Regions from separate parts of the Homo sapiens genome. Here region 1 is linked to region 2. Evidence: promoter capture Hi-C in 16 types of primary human blood cells and fetal thymus (Javierre and others, 2016). All regions are on one chromosome and are shown on one strand. The core of a region is centred on a gene start or on the middle of the fragment in contact, and the rest is flanking DNA. Distances in the headings are between cores, read along the strand shown. Region 1 overlaps CPEB1 (cytoplasmic polyadenylation element binding protein 1). Region 2 holds the start of BTBD1 (BTB domain containing 1).

Region 1 (6,410 bases), core at 3,230-5,729, 520 kb after region 2:
CCAGTTTCTTGCTGTAGCAACACGTTGGGCCTATTCCTTTTAGGAAATATCCTTCCACATCTTTGTCCTGAATGAAAATGATAGTTCCTTTCATTGGCTGTCTGCCTCTTTGCTGAAAGAGGAGGGTGAAATAAATGGGCAAGAACTAGCTAGTCCTCACTAAGGTCAGTCTCTGATTTGGAAAGGTACAAACAGTGGGGACAGGATTGAAGACTGATTCATTACGTTACCATGCTGGCATCAAGGAAGGCCCATTGTCTATTTGGGTGCTATAAAGATGAGTCTGGCTTGGAACAGTTGTGACATTCTTGTCTTACTGGGTTGCCAGTGCTGGTTTTTATTGGCAGTGTCCTAACTTCTGTGATTCATGAGTTCAGAGCCAAGACAAGGAAACAGAATAGAATGTTTCTCATTTGAACATTGGGGAGAAGGCCCATTTGTACCAGTAAGCCTGCAAGATGTTGTATTGCTATGTTTATTTTCAAGTAATTATGAATTAGTACTGTAAGCAATAACAGGATAAAACTGCTTTGTGGTTAGCATATTAGTTGAATGTTTGAAAATAACATGGGGTGTAAATTTTTACCCTACACATCTGGTTTGGTATTCCTTTCAATTTTAGTGGGGACAGAATTAGCAAAGTAGGATTATCATACTTGACTGAGTGGATTGGTGAGACATAGATTTCTTGCTTTTCAGAATAATCATGGATATTCTCTCAGGCATCTGGGCAAGGATTGTGGCCAGTCAGGTTCTTACTGGACAAGTTCACCCCAGGGAAGAGTGTGGCTTTGTTGATTCTCTAACCTCCCCTGTTTATCTCTTTGCCATCTACCAAAGCTGTGAATGAAGCCACCTGTACCTGGAGTGGCCAGCTTCCTCCCCGGAACTATAAGAACCCCATCTACTCTTGCAAGGTGTTTCTAGGAGGTGTTCCTTGGGATATTACAGAAGGTGAGCTGTCTCTAAGACCTGCTTTAAGAGTTGAAGGGTGGGGCATGTCTTTCAGGAGCATGAAACTTGGAATTGAGGCCAGGGGCTGAATGCCCTGCCTGAGCTCAGGGTATTACATGAGTGTCTGAGGGGAGAGGTGCATTTCATAGACCCCCATAGTGCTCCTTATGTCGGGAGCTTACACCGGAGATCAGCATTCGTTTCTGAGTTGTTTGTCAGTGGGGATGAGCCAGGGAGGAGAATGCTGGTGATTCTGTGTTTGTGTCTTTACTGGGAAAGATGGTTCCTCAGCTTCTGCCATTCTTTTCTGTCTCTTTGCAGCTGGATTAGTTAACACCTTCCGTGTTTTTGGCTCTTTGAGTGTGGAGTGGCCTGGTAAGGATGGCAAGCATCCCCGGTGTCCTCCCAAAGGTAATATGCCTAAAGGTAATAAAGACATGGTAGGAGCTTTTTTTTCCCTTCCCTAGTACATAACTGCACCTAGGGGTGCTGGGATGTCACAGCTGCATGTTGGTAACATGGTGGGCACTCCAGGGCACAGACCTGCCATCTGTCAGCACTTTCTCTTCAACCTAACATGTCCCTCTGTTTCTTCTGAGCTAATGTTCCATCTGTCCAGACTTACACAGCAGTGGGAGTTGCCTCTGAAACCCCTTCCTTGTACACTTCTCTCTAAACCTGAACCCAAGCAGCACCTTTCCTCTCAAAATAAGGCGTTTGAAAAGCTTTCCCTTGCCTGCCTGTCCTGCCCAGTTACGTTGTTGCCTGACCTAATTCTGAAGTCCCTTTGGAGTTGGCAGGAATGAGGACCAAGCATCTGATTCCTCACTGGTCTGAAATGAGATCCCTTCCCTGTAGAAAGGAGCAGGTGCTATTTTCACCCTGCCCCATCTTCATTGAACTGAACTAATGGTTTAAGTAGGTGTTTAAAGCAATACCTGCCATCTTTCCTGCCACCAGGAAAGCCTGGCTCTGCTGACCTGAACATGCTCTGTGTTCTTGCATAGAGAGCTGTGGTAATGGTGGGATCCTCTGTCTCAGCTTGCCAGTCCTTTCCTTCACCAGGGTGGGAGGGAGGCCCACAACCCAGGGCATCTGCATAGCAAATGCTTCCACTCAACACGACTTTTCAGGAGTAAAACAAAAATGTATCTTATACACAAGACCTTCTTTCTTGGAAGAAACGCCCTGCTGCAAAGCCAAGGCTGAGGAGTGGCCACCTAAGGGATATTAATGCGATTTTTCCTCTCATTGGGAATAGGGTATGTGTATCTGGTCTTCGAACTAGAGAAGTCTGTCCGATCCTTGCTTCAGGCTTGCTCTCATGACCCGCTGAGCCCAGATGGCCTGAGTGAATATTATTTCAAGATGTCCAGCCGAAGGATGCGCTGCAAGGAGGTGAGTTAGCGTGATGTCCTTTCTGGATCGAGGGTCTTGGAATATTGAGGCACTGGATTTTCTTGTGGTAGGTGGATAGGCAGGCTGCAGGCAAGGAGTATTCCTGCTGAGGCAAGAAGGCTCTTCTTGTCCCACAATAAAATAGCAGTATCCTCTCAATTACATTAAAAAAAAAAAAAAGCAACCTTTGGGACTTAATGGGGTGTGTGCATGCACACATGCGCATGCCTGCCCATGGTAATCAAACTGTCTGCCCGTCTTTATTCTGCTCTTCTTTCTTGTAGCCAACACTTTGGTTTCAAACCTCTTGTCTTAGAAATGAAATTGAGAACAGCAAACTTCTCTACTTGGACTTAACTGATAAACCTACAGCTGTTTTTCCCTGGTCCTGCCCTTCCTGTGCCTTGTGACCTCCCAGTCTGTGGGGGTGAATTCCTCTTTAGCCCACACCCACCTGTGGGTCACTTCTTCATTCTTATTCAGGGCTTTATTTAGTTTTGTGGGTTTTCCCCATAAGATTCTCTCTTCCTACGCTTTTTCTAATATCAGCCTTATGTATCCTTGGCAGCATGGGTCTCTAACGAGTTTATCTCACCTGGGGATCTCATTGCACATTCTTGGGCCTTATCCCAGACTTACTGAATCACTCTGGGTGGAATTTAGGAATCTCCAACTGAATAAAGATCCCCAGGTGGTTCTAGTGGGTAGTGTTTGAGAACCACTTGTCAAAGCAAGTTTTGAGCTCAGGAATCAGTGCGGTGGTAAAATCGGATTTGAGAGCACACAACTTTTGTGACATTGGACTAGATATTTAATATCTCTGAAACTTTGTTTCCTCTTCTCTTCTATAAGATGGGAAACTAAAATGCCTATTTTAGTAAAAAAGATCAGTGGTTGCCAGGGGTTTAGCAGGAAGGGATGAAGAGACATAGCACAGAGGATTTTTAGGGCAGTGAAACTATTCTGTATATGGTGGATACATGTCATTATACTTTGGTCCAAACCCATAGAAGGTAAAAGAAACACCAGGAGTGAACTCTGATGCAAACCATGGACTTTCGGTGGGGATGATGGGTCAGTATAAAAAAATGTTCCACTCTCATGCGGGATCCTGATAGTGGGGAAGTCACGCAAGTGTGGGGGCAGAGAGTATTTGGAGAATCCCTGTACTTTCTGCTCAGATTTACTGTAAACCTTAAAGCTTCTCTAAAAAAATCTATAGGGTAAGAGGAGAAATGCCTATTTTATTGGGATGGTCACATTAGATTTAAAATAAATCCATGTAACAAAGCTGGCTCTTGTTCTGTGTTAGAGAGAGGGCAGGCTCATCCTCTGGCTGCCCACAGTGACCCACAGCTTCCCTACCTTCTCTGCTTCTTTATTCTCTGGAGCTTGTGTAGTCTTCCCACCTTAGTATGTTCTAGGACTTAATTAACATGCTCCTTTTTCCTCCCCTCCTGCTTTCACAACCAGAGATGGCCATATGCATATCACAGAGCCCTTCCCCTTCCTCCTCAGTGCCCCTGTAGACACCATCCTGTCTCCCATTCCCTCCCATCACCTTACAGGGATTTAATCTTTCTTTGATTCACTGGCTATAGGCTGATGCAGTTCTCCTTCCTCTCTACTTTTCTTTTTCCTTTGTGTTCCTCTCCCCGCCAGCACCAACATAGCCAATATAGCCAATCTTTGACTCCCTTCTTCTTTTCTAGTTCAGATAAATGACTCACTTTGTGGCTTCTCTCACCTTTAGACCCAGATTCACCTTTCTAGCCTCATGTCCTACCTGAGCCTCACCTTCCTGTGGGATCCTTCTTCGGGATGTCCTGTAATCCCAAACTCTTTTGTGGGCAAAATTGGCTTTTTCATCTTCCAGTGAAATTGGCTCCCCTCTTGTAACTTCTGCCAGGTCCTCTCATCCCAAGACCGTGTAGGCCCAGCACCTACCAGGCCTGATTCTTCCTTGCTTGCCCATCCTGCTTATGCTGTCTGAGTACTGCAGACTCTTCTGTTGAAGAATCTCTTTGGTCTTGGCCTGTTCTCTGCTCGTTGCCACCAGCCTTGTCCAAGTCTTAATCACCTGTCCTTTGAAACTACTGTTTTTGCCTCCTTGCTGGTTTCTGCCTCAGATCTCTTCCTGCTTCAAGACATATTTTTAGATCTTCACTTCATTCTGGACTCCTCCACCTGCTCTACAAGGTTTTGTTCCAGGTTCAGGAGATTCAGAGGCAAAGGACATGGTCAGCCCCAGCCCTTTAAGACTCCAGGGATCTTGTATGTGACTTTCTACCCAACCTCTCGCCAGTCATTTCCACTGCTCTGGCACAAACCCTCTGAAGGCTAGGTTGGGCCAGTAACCATCTCATACAAATATCGTAAGCACTCCCACCCCTCTGTCCTTCAGGATCCTAGCCTTTAATTTCTCTGTGAGTCCTTCCTTTCTTGAGGACTTCAGATTATGCCCTTTTCATCAGTGTCCACAGCCCTTTGTTGGAACTACACAGTTGGAGGTTGAAATAGAATGCTGGGCTCCTGGGTTTGGCCATGTGGTACTTTTTTGCTTACTCTCCAGCATGAGTGAGTACTGTGTCCACTTCTACCATTCTGGACACATGGACTCAGTAAAATTCAACTCCAGTTGGGGTGGAGTCAGGGTGGTTTATTGGACGCCTGTGTGCCTGAGATTGGGCAACAGCACCTTTTCACCCCTGTAAGGGCGTTAGCTTAGCTTCAGTATCTCCAGAGCACGTACCTTGCCGTGCAAGCACCTCTCTCTCTGTGGCTCTCTGCCAGGGCTGATACACCTTTGGGTGGTTTTCAGGTGCAGGTGATCCCCTGGGTATTAGCCGACAGTAACTTTGTCCGGAGCCCATCTCAGAGGCTTGACCCCAGCAGGACGGTGTTTGTCGGTGCTCTGCATGGAATGCTAAATGCTGAGGCCCTGGCAGCCATCTTGAACGACCTATTTGGTGGAGTGGTGTATGCCGGGATTGACACAGATAAGCACAAGTATCCCATTGGTAAGTGTCCCACTTCTGTGTGCGAAAGCTTGGTTGGCCCCTGGGAGTAGACCAAGATTGTGATACTTCCCCATGGGAGTGAGGAGAGAGGCCTGACCCAGGTCTGCAGATCAGCATATACCAGCACCATAATATCTTTTTCTAGACAAGTCACGAGTACTGGCCCTTCTGTATCTAGCCCTCTACCCACCATCTCCCACGCAGTGGGAGAAAAAGCTATTGGAGACTACAGGAGGTGATAAGAAGTGAGAGTGAGGTAGGAACTTTGTTGGAAGCTCAGAGTTCACAGCGAAACCAGTTTGGAACAGACAACAGGTACTATTTCATGAAAAGGCTGCAATTCTCTGAACTTGCCTGGAGTTTTTTATTAAAAGTTCTTGAAAAGCTCTGGCATTGTCTAAGGTCAGAGACCAGGTCAGGCTGGAGGAGGACTTTCTGAGTGAGTCAGGCAACAGAGTGTGGCCTGTGCTTTCCTAACTCAGAAGTCTGTGGGCCTAACCACTAGGTTTTGATCAGCTCCTCTGAGAAAGGAGGTCAATTCGCCAGTCCTGGCAAAATGTCAATGATGAGGTATGGAGGTGGAGCAGAGCCTGACCTCTGTGATTAACATGTGGCTAACCCACCTCCCCAAATGCTTAGTCTTCACACCCACACTGAATCTGGTCAGGAAGGAGCACCATGTACTCACCAATACTGTGCAGCAGATTGAGAACAGGGACTTCAGAAGCCCCAGGAGCGGAGGAGGAACTTGGCAGGATGGGGCTTCTTCCAGCTCTCTTAATAGGTCTCCAGAGTGCCTAAGGGCTAGGAGAGGTTCAGTTCAACTGCTGGGCTTACCCTTCAGACAAGTGTTCTATCTGCATCTTGGCTTCCACTCTGAATCCTTTAACCTTAACCTATGCTCTACCTGCACTGAAGGAGTCCCTTATCTTTCCTTCCCATCTTGATCTGCAAATTCTTCCCCCATTCCTGAATGGTTCACGCTAACATGATCTCCACTGTCAAATATGGTACGAATATGGTAGCTACCAGCTAAAT
Region 2 (6,619 bases), core at 1,888-4,387:
ATTCCTTTGATATTTTCAAAGCCACTAATAGAATTACTCATATTTTTAAACTCCACAATTATGTTTATATATCCTTTCTTATGTCCAATTCTATGTTTTTTAATCTCTTTCCTTTTAAACTAGCTAGTATAGTATACTATAGAGTGTGATCTATGAAAGGCCTGCATTAGAATACCTGGGATGACACTTAAAAGTAGTAAGTGAATTAATTTTCTGAATCATCAATGGATACTGAAATCAGTAGGTGAAAGCTTTTTGGGGAAACAGACTGGTCAAACAGTCTCAGAGCATCACCCTCATGGATTACTTATTACATAAGAATCATACACCTTCATAATGGAGGGATCTGACAGTCACAGCCTCACCAGGTCATCAAGCTTAGCATCACCAACATACGCTTTCTGAAGTGAGGCAATGAAGTACTTAACATCACCAGCATATTCTTGCCTAAAATGTTTAACCTGGAATCTAACCATGAATCATACAGAATCCACCAGACAAATCCAGATTGTGGAGCATTATACTCCACAATTCCCCGGACCTTCAAAGAAGTCAACACAGTCAATAATATGTGAACATTGATTTGATCCTGGATTGGAAAAAAAGTCATCTGTGAAAGATATTTTTGGCCAGGCACAGTGGCTCATGCCTGTAATCCCAGCACTTTGGGAGGCCAAGGTGGGCAGATCATAAGGTCAGTAGATTGAGACCATCCTGGCTAACACGGTGAAACCCCGTCTCTACTAATGACAGGTGAAGCCAACTGGACTTCTGGGTAGGGTGAGGACTTGAAGAACTTTTCTGTCTTACAAGTGGTTTGTAAAATGTGCCAGTCAGTGCTCTGTAAAAACACACCAATCAGCACTCTGTGGCTAGCTAGAGGTTTGTAAAATGGACCAATCAGCACTCTGTAAAGTGGACCAATCAGCACTCTGTAAAATGGACCAATCAGCATTCCGTAAAATGGACCAATCAGCACCCTGTAAAATAGACCAATCAGCACTCTGTAAAGTGCACCAATCAGCATTCTGTAAAATGGACCAATCAGCAGGACATGGGCGGGGACAAATAAGGAAGTAAAAGCTGACTCCACCCCCCCCACCCCCGCCGGCCCCTCCCCTCCTGCCCCCACGCCCAGAGACTGCAACCACCCGTTGGGGTTCCTTTCCATGACATAAGGGCTTTGTTCTTTTGCTCTTCAGAAGAAGTCTTTGGGTCCCTGCCATCTTAAGAGCTATAAAACTCATCAGGAAGGTCCACAGCTCCATTCTTGAAGTCAGCAAGACCACGAACCCACCAGAAGGAACGAACTCTGGACACACTAAAAATACAAAAAAAAAAAAAAATCAGCAGGCTTGGTGGCAGGTGCCTGTAGTCCCAGCTACTCGGGAGGCTGAGACAGGAGAATGGCGTGAACGTGGGAGGCAGAGCTTGCAGTGAGCGGAGATCATGCCACTGCCCTCCAGCCTGGGCAACAGAGCAAGACTCCGTCTCAAAAAAAAATTTTTTTAGAGACAAGTGGAGAAACAAATATTAACTGTACATTAAATATTATACATAGGACCAGGCCTGGTGGCTCATGCCTGTAATCCCAGCACTTTGGGAGGCCGAGGCGGGTAGATCACGAGGTCAGGACTTGGAGAGGAGCCTGGCCAATATGGTGAAACCCCGTCTCTACTAAAAATACAAATAATTAGCTGGATGTGGTGACACGCACCTGTAACCCCAGCTACTCGGGAGGCTGAGGAGGAGAATCGCTTGAGCCCGGAAGGCAGACTTCATGCCATTGCACTCCAGCTTTGGCAACAGAGCGAGACTCCGTCTCAAAAAAAAAAAAATCATATATAGATGATTTGATGATATGGTTAATTTTGTTAGGTGTGATAATGGTATCATTAGTAGCATGATGTCCCTTTGTCTTTAGGAATTGCCGGCTGGCAATGGGGAAGGGGTTGTGCATCCACTATTTCAGCCCCTACTACTTTAAGTCTCTTCCCAAGCACGTTCCTCTCCCAAAGAAGTTACCATTCTAAATGCCTAACAGCTGGAAGTCCCCTCTGGTGGTTTCACAAGTGGAGTGATTTTACAGGAGAAACCCAGGTTTGGGGTTTACTATTTACTTGACGGCATTTGTAATCTGTAAGGCTCTTCCTGCAAAGAACAGGTGTTTCCAACTATACGTGCCTGGTCAAGGACTATTTCTTGGGTTTTCTACGTTCTGCTTTTGACAGCTGACTTAACTCAGGGCCTGCCTCACTGAAGGGAGAAAAAGGAAGGCCTCGGTCCCCCAATCATGATGACCGGGTTGTAAATACTGCCTGGGAAGGGATAATACAGCCTTTTCCATTGTGTGTGTGTTTTAGTTTTTAATTTTTTAAATTTCAAGCTTAGGCAGTGGTTCAGTGCAAGGACTGAAAAGCGCTACAAGAGAAGGTGGGCAAGCACGAGGGGTTTCAAATACAGGGGTGGAAGCAGTAGAAGGAAATGTCTCTTAGGCCCAGAGGACGGAACCAAAGGGTCAATTAGAAGGGAAAGGGACCTGCGGACCTGGGGAGAGGTCACTGGGGTTCTAAGCCTTCCACCTCTGCTTCCGGAATTTCCACGGGTTTCGCGGCCTTCTGGAGCGGCGACTTGGCCACGCTTGGGGTACAGGGTTGTGGGAAGTCATGTCATCCCCTCCCTCACGTGTTCCCTTGGCCATACTTTCCTGCCCCTCCACTTCCAGGCAAAACACTCCTCGGGACAGGCCTTGGGACATGTCCCAGATACACAATGGGGGCGCTGGACTTGGTGATAAGGGGCCTGCAGGAAGAAAAAGGCAGCCGTGAGAGCCGCCTGCAGATCCACGATGCATCTTAAAATTACAAATTCTCAGGCCCTACCCCAGACCTACTGAGTCAGAATACCCAGGGCACTGAGCCAGGGGGTGGGTGCCCGTAGGCCCGGCAGCACCCAGCCTGCAGAAGCTCCACCTCCGGGAGCGCTGAGCTAGGACCAGCTCCCCACGCCCCTGCCCTGGGGCTGCCGGGAGTCCAGTCCTGTTACACCTCCCGCGGCCGCGCACAGCGGCAACCCGGGCGTGCGGGGGCGCGCGCGGTCAGGGAGGGGCCTGCGGAGGCGCGAGGCCCCCGGAAGCGCCTTTCCCGGAAGGCAGGGAGGCAGCGCCGGCCTCCGGAGGCGGCCTGGGCGATGGCGGCGGAGTTTTGTCCATAACGTGGGCAACCGCGCAGCTGGAGGATGGCCTCACTCGGGCCTGCCGCAGCTGGGGAGCAGGCGTCGGGGGCTGAGGCGGAGCCGGGCCCCGCGGGGCCGCCGCCGCCGCCCTCACCGTCCTCTCTGGGGCCCCTGCTCCCCCTGCAGCGGGAACCTCTCTACAACTGGCAGGCGACCAAGGCGTCGCTGAAGGAGCGCTTCGCCTTCCTCTTCAACTCGGAGCTGCTGAGCGATGTGCGCTTCGTACTGGGCAAGGGTCGCGGCGCCGCCGCCGCTGGGGGCCCGCAGCGCATCCCCGCCCACCGCTTCGTGCTGGCGGCCGGCAGCGCCGTCTTTGACGCCATGTTCAACGGCGGCATGGCCACCACGTCGGCCGAGATCGAGCTGCCGGACGTGGAGCCCGCAGCCTTCCTGGCGCTGCTGAGGTGAGCGGCAGCGCGGGCCGGGCCGGGCCGGGCCGGGCCGGGCCGGGCCGGGCTGGGAGATCCCCGGGGCCCGGCCTACCCGGACTCCCGGATGACCTTGGGCTGGGCTCTTCTGACCCGCCCGGGGCCTCAGTTTCCTCCCGAGCCGTTGATGCTCCGGAGGGTCGAAATCGAAATCTGTGAACCAGGACGGCTCAGTCGCCAACTAAACGTTAGTGTCTTCATTAGGCAAGCGTGCGTTTTACCATTGAAAGGCGTTTCGCATTCCAATTATGGATTGTCGCTCAGACTTCAGAATTAGACAAGTGGCAAGGATAGAGGGGCAGATCAGGTTGTCCTGATTGCCCATTTGCGAAGTTTTATGTTTTTGTTTGGGGGAAGAGAGTAGTTGAAAAATCTTGCAGGACTGATGTTTTGGGGTTATTGTCACCCCCTTCCCCCCGCTTTTTTTGAGACAAGGTCTTGCTCTGTTGCCCAGGCTGGAATGCTGTAGCGCGATCATGGCTCACTGCAGCCTCGACCTCTCCGGGCTCAGGTGATGCTCCGACCTCAGCCTCCCGAGTATTTGGGACTACAGGCACGCGCCACCACGCCCGGCTAATTTTTTTTATTTTTATTTTTGGTAGAGAGAGGGTTTCACTATGTTGCCCAGGCTGGTCTCGGACTCCTGGGGTCAAGCGATCCGTCCACCTCGGCCTCCCAAAGTGCTGGGATTACAGGCGTGAACCACCGCGCCTGGCCACTTTTTTGTTTTTGTTTTTGTTTTTCATTAACGTATTAGTTGTCAAGACCCAGGAAAGTAAATACGAAAACAGACAAGTGAGGCTTTACCTGCTTTGTGTTTCTACACACAAGGTCACATTTGCTTATAAATGAATCCCTCCCTTGATGTTAGAATTTGCTTGTTGGTTATTTGAGGATAGTAGATTGACATCTAATGAAAAGGTGATTGTTTGGCATTACTAGCTTTTAATCACAGCCATCCTGTTAGGGAGGCGTAAGAATTGTTTACCCCAATTTCACAAATGGGACTGAGGCCCAGAAGAGTCAAGTATCTTGCCCAAGGTAACAAACAGCTAACTCACACTGAAGACCATGTCTGTTTCATTATACTAAGATGGTTTTAAATAGCTGCCTGAGTAGAACGTGTTGTTATTAAAATGGCAGAGTCTTGGGTAGTACTGAAGCAAAAACAGGCAGGTCAGTGGGACAGAATTAGATACAAAGGTTCACAGTTGAATCAGAAAGATGAACAAGAAAATGAATGTAAAGTTCACACAACTAGAAACAAATAATAAGATTCCATTGACGAATGGATAAAGGACAGGATAGATAACTTAGAGAAAGAAAAAATACAACTAATTAACGAATGTTTTACCTGGCTGGTAATTAGGAAGTGCAAATTAAAAGACAGTGGTATTTTTTCCTTCCATTAATCCCACCAAAAAATTTAAAGGTAACATCTGAACAGCATTTTCTGACAAAGATGGTGGTAAAAACCCTTTTGGAAAACAGTTTGGTGCTATAGATTTTCTTTCCACACGTAAGAAGCATTCAAGTATTGCAAATTGCATACAAAAATATTTACAGCTTTATTTATAGTAGTGAGGAAGTAGTCAGCTGTAGGGAATGGTTAAACAGTGGTAGGTTCACTTGATGAGATATAATGCAGTCACTAAATATGACGGATAGCACTTGAAACTGCACCATGGTTACAACGTGAAAAGACATGGAACAAACATATACCTAGAGACCGGGATAAAAGGAAACATACCAAAATGCTAAGCAAAGTCACCTGGAGTAGTGAGATGAAAGTACCTTTTTTTCTTCTTTATTCTTTGTTTCTGATATTTTCTGTAATTTAGTTCAGTTACATTTATAAAGGGGGGGGACCTCAAAAGCTAAAATCCAGGTCATTTTAGTTTAAAGTTCACCAGGAGGATTGGGTATAGTTCATTTGGATTTTCTAGACTAGAAGTAGTTTTCAAAATGATCTGTGGGCCGTCTGCATTATAATCTTCTGGGGTGCTTATGAAATGTGTAGATCTCATCCTCATTATATACCGTAATATTTGGAGGTGAGACCTTGGTAGCATTTTTAACACTCTCCCTAAGTGATACTTATACAAACTAAATTTAAGAACCACAAATCTAAAACTATTTTGGGGCAATTTTTTACTTTGAAAAAATATTGAGATTACTAGGATAAGAATGTAGAGGAAAAATACATATTTTAATATTTTCACCGAAGCTGCTAATTAGTGCTTTCCCATCAATAGAAAGTAAGTTAATTTTAGAGTGTTTGAAATGTAGGACAGTGCAATTTTTTTTTTCACATTGTAAAACATTTTTTACATTTTTAAACTTTTTTTTCATTTTTACATTTTCAGTGTGTTTTATTTTCCTAGCATTGTATTTATCCTTCAGGTTCTGGTCATTGTTCTATTTTGAAATTGATATCTGGACTGATTTCTAAATTTAATTTTGGCTGGCTGTGTAACGTAGATGTTGTTGTTAGCTAATACGTGACAAAAAGATGCCTGATAGTACTTGCTAAGTTGGAAGAGCAGGTTAGTTTGGGCATACTTGTAAACATCCTGAATTAGTTAACATTACTTACAGGCTCATGAACTTAAGTTTGAAGCCCTTAAAGAAACTGTGCACTTTGAACTGCCTGACCTTTAAATGATGTTCTTCAGTTGTTTGACAAATACTATATGCCTCCCTTTTGGGGCGCTTGTGAAACAGCGAATGGCTGTTGTAGGTGTTTGGGACACAGCAATAAACAAGAAAAAGTCCTTGCCCTCATGAAGCACATAATCTAGTAAAGGGAAACTAAAGATACAATGTCAAGTACTGATGAATGTTTTGAAGAAAAATAATCAAGTTATGAGAGAAGGAACATTCTCAGCAAGGGAACGCATTGTTTTCGGCACTAAGTATCTCCTGTTGGAGGAACACAAGAGTGAACCAGTGTGCCT

Evidence for each region. Contacts are between HindIII fragments. The CHiCAGO score rates a contact against its expected background, and 5 or more counts as called.
Region 1: a contact is called between a fragment that was not itself captured here and the fragment with the promoter of BTBD1 in region 2, in 11 of 17 cell types (total CD8 T cells, naive CD8 T cells, total B cells and 8 more). The highest score is 13.4, in total CD8 T cells.

What each region holds. Positions count from the first base shown.
Region 1 is chr15:82,548,422-82,554,831 of GRCh38, reverse strand. It overlaps CPEB1 (cytoplasmic polyadenylation element binding protein 1), which reads left to right. Exons shown (of 13, transcript NM_001365242.1): 7 at 841-954; 8 at 1,276-1,365; 9 at 2,216-2,352; 10 at 5,174-5,372. Among named protein-coding and RNA genes, the nearest start is that of RPS17, 11 kb to the right of the region's middle. The HindIII fragment of the contact is 1,847 bases long and covers 3,556-5,402 here.
Region 2 is chr15:83,063,770-83,070,388 of GRCh38, reverse strand. BTBD1 (BTB domain containing 1) reads left to right here and starts at 3,137. Exons shown (of 8, transcript NM_025238.4): 1 at 3,137-3,638. The coding sequence starts at 3,238. MIR4515 (microRNA 4515) reads right to left here and starts at 3,054; the gene lies at 2,974-3,054. RefSeq lists silencers at 1,004-1,053, 2,930-3,409, 3,650-3,819 and enhancers at 958-1,252, 2,690-2,739, 2,750-2,869. The HindIII fragment of the contact is 13,987 bases long and covers 2,389-6,619 here.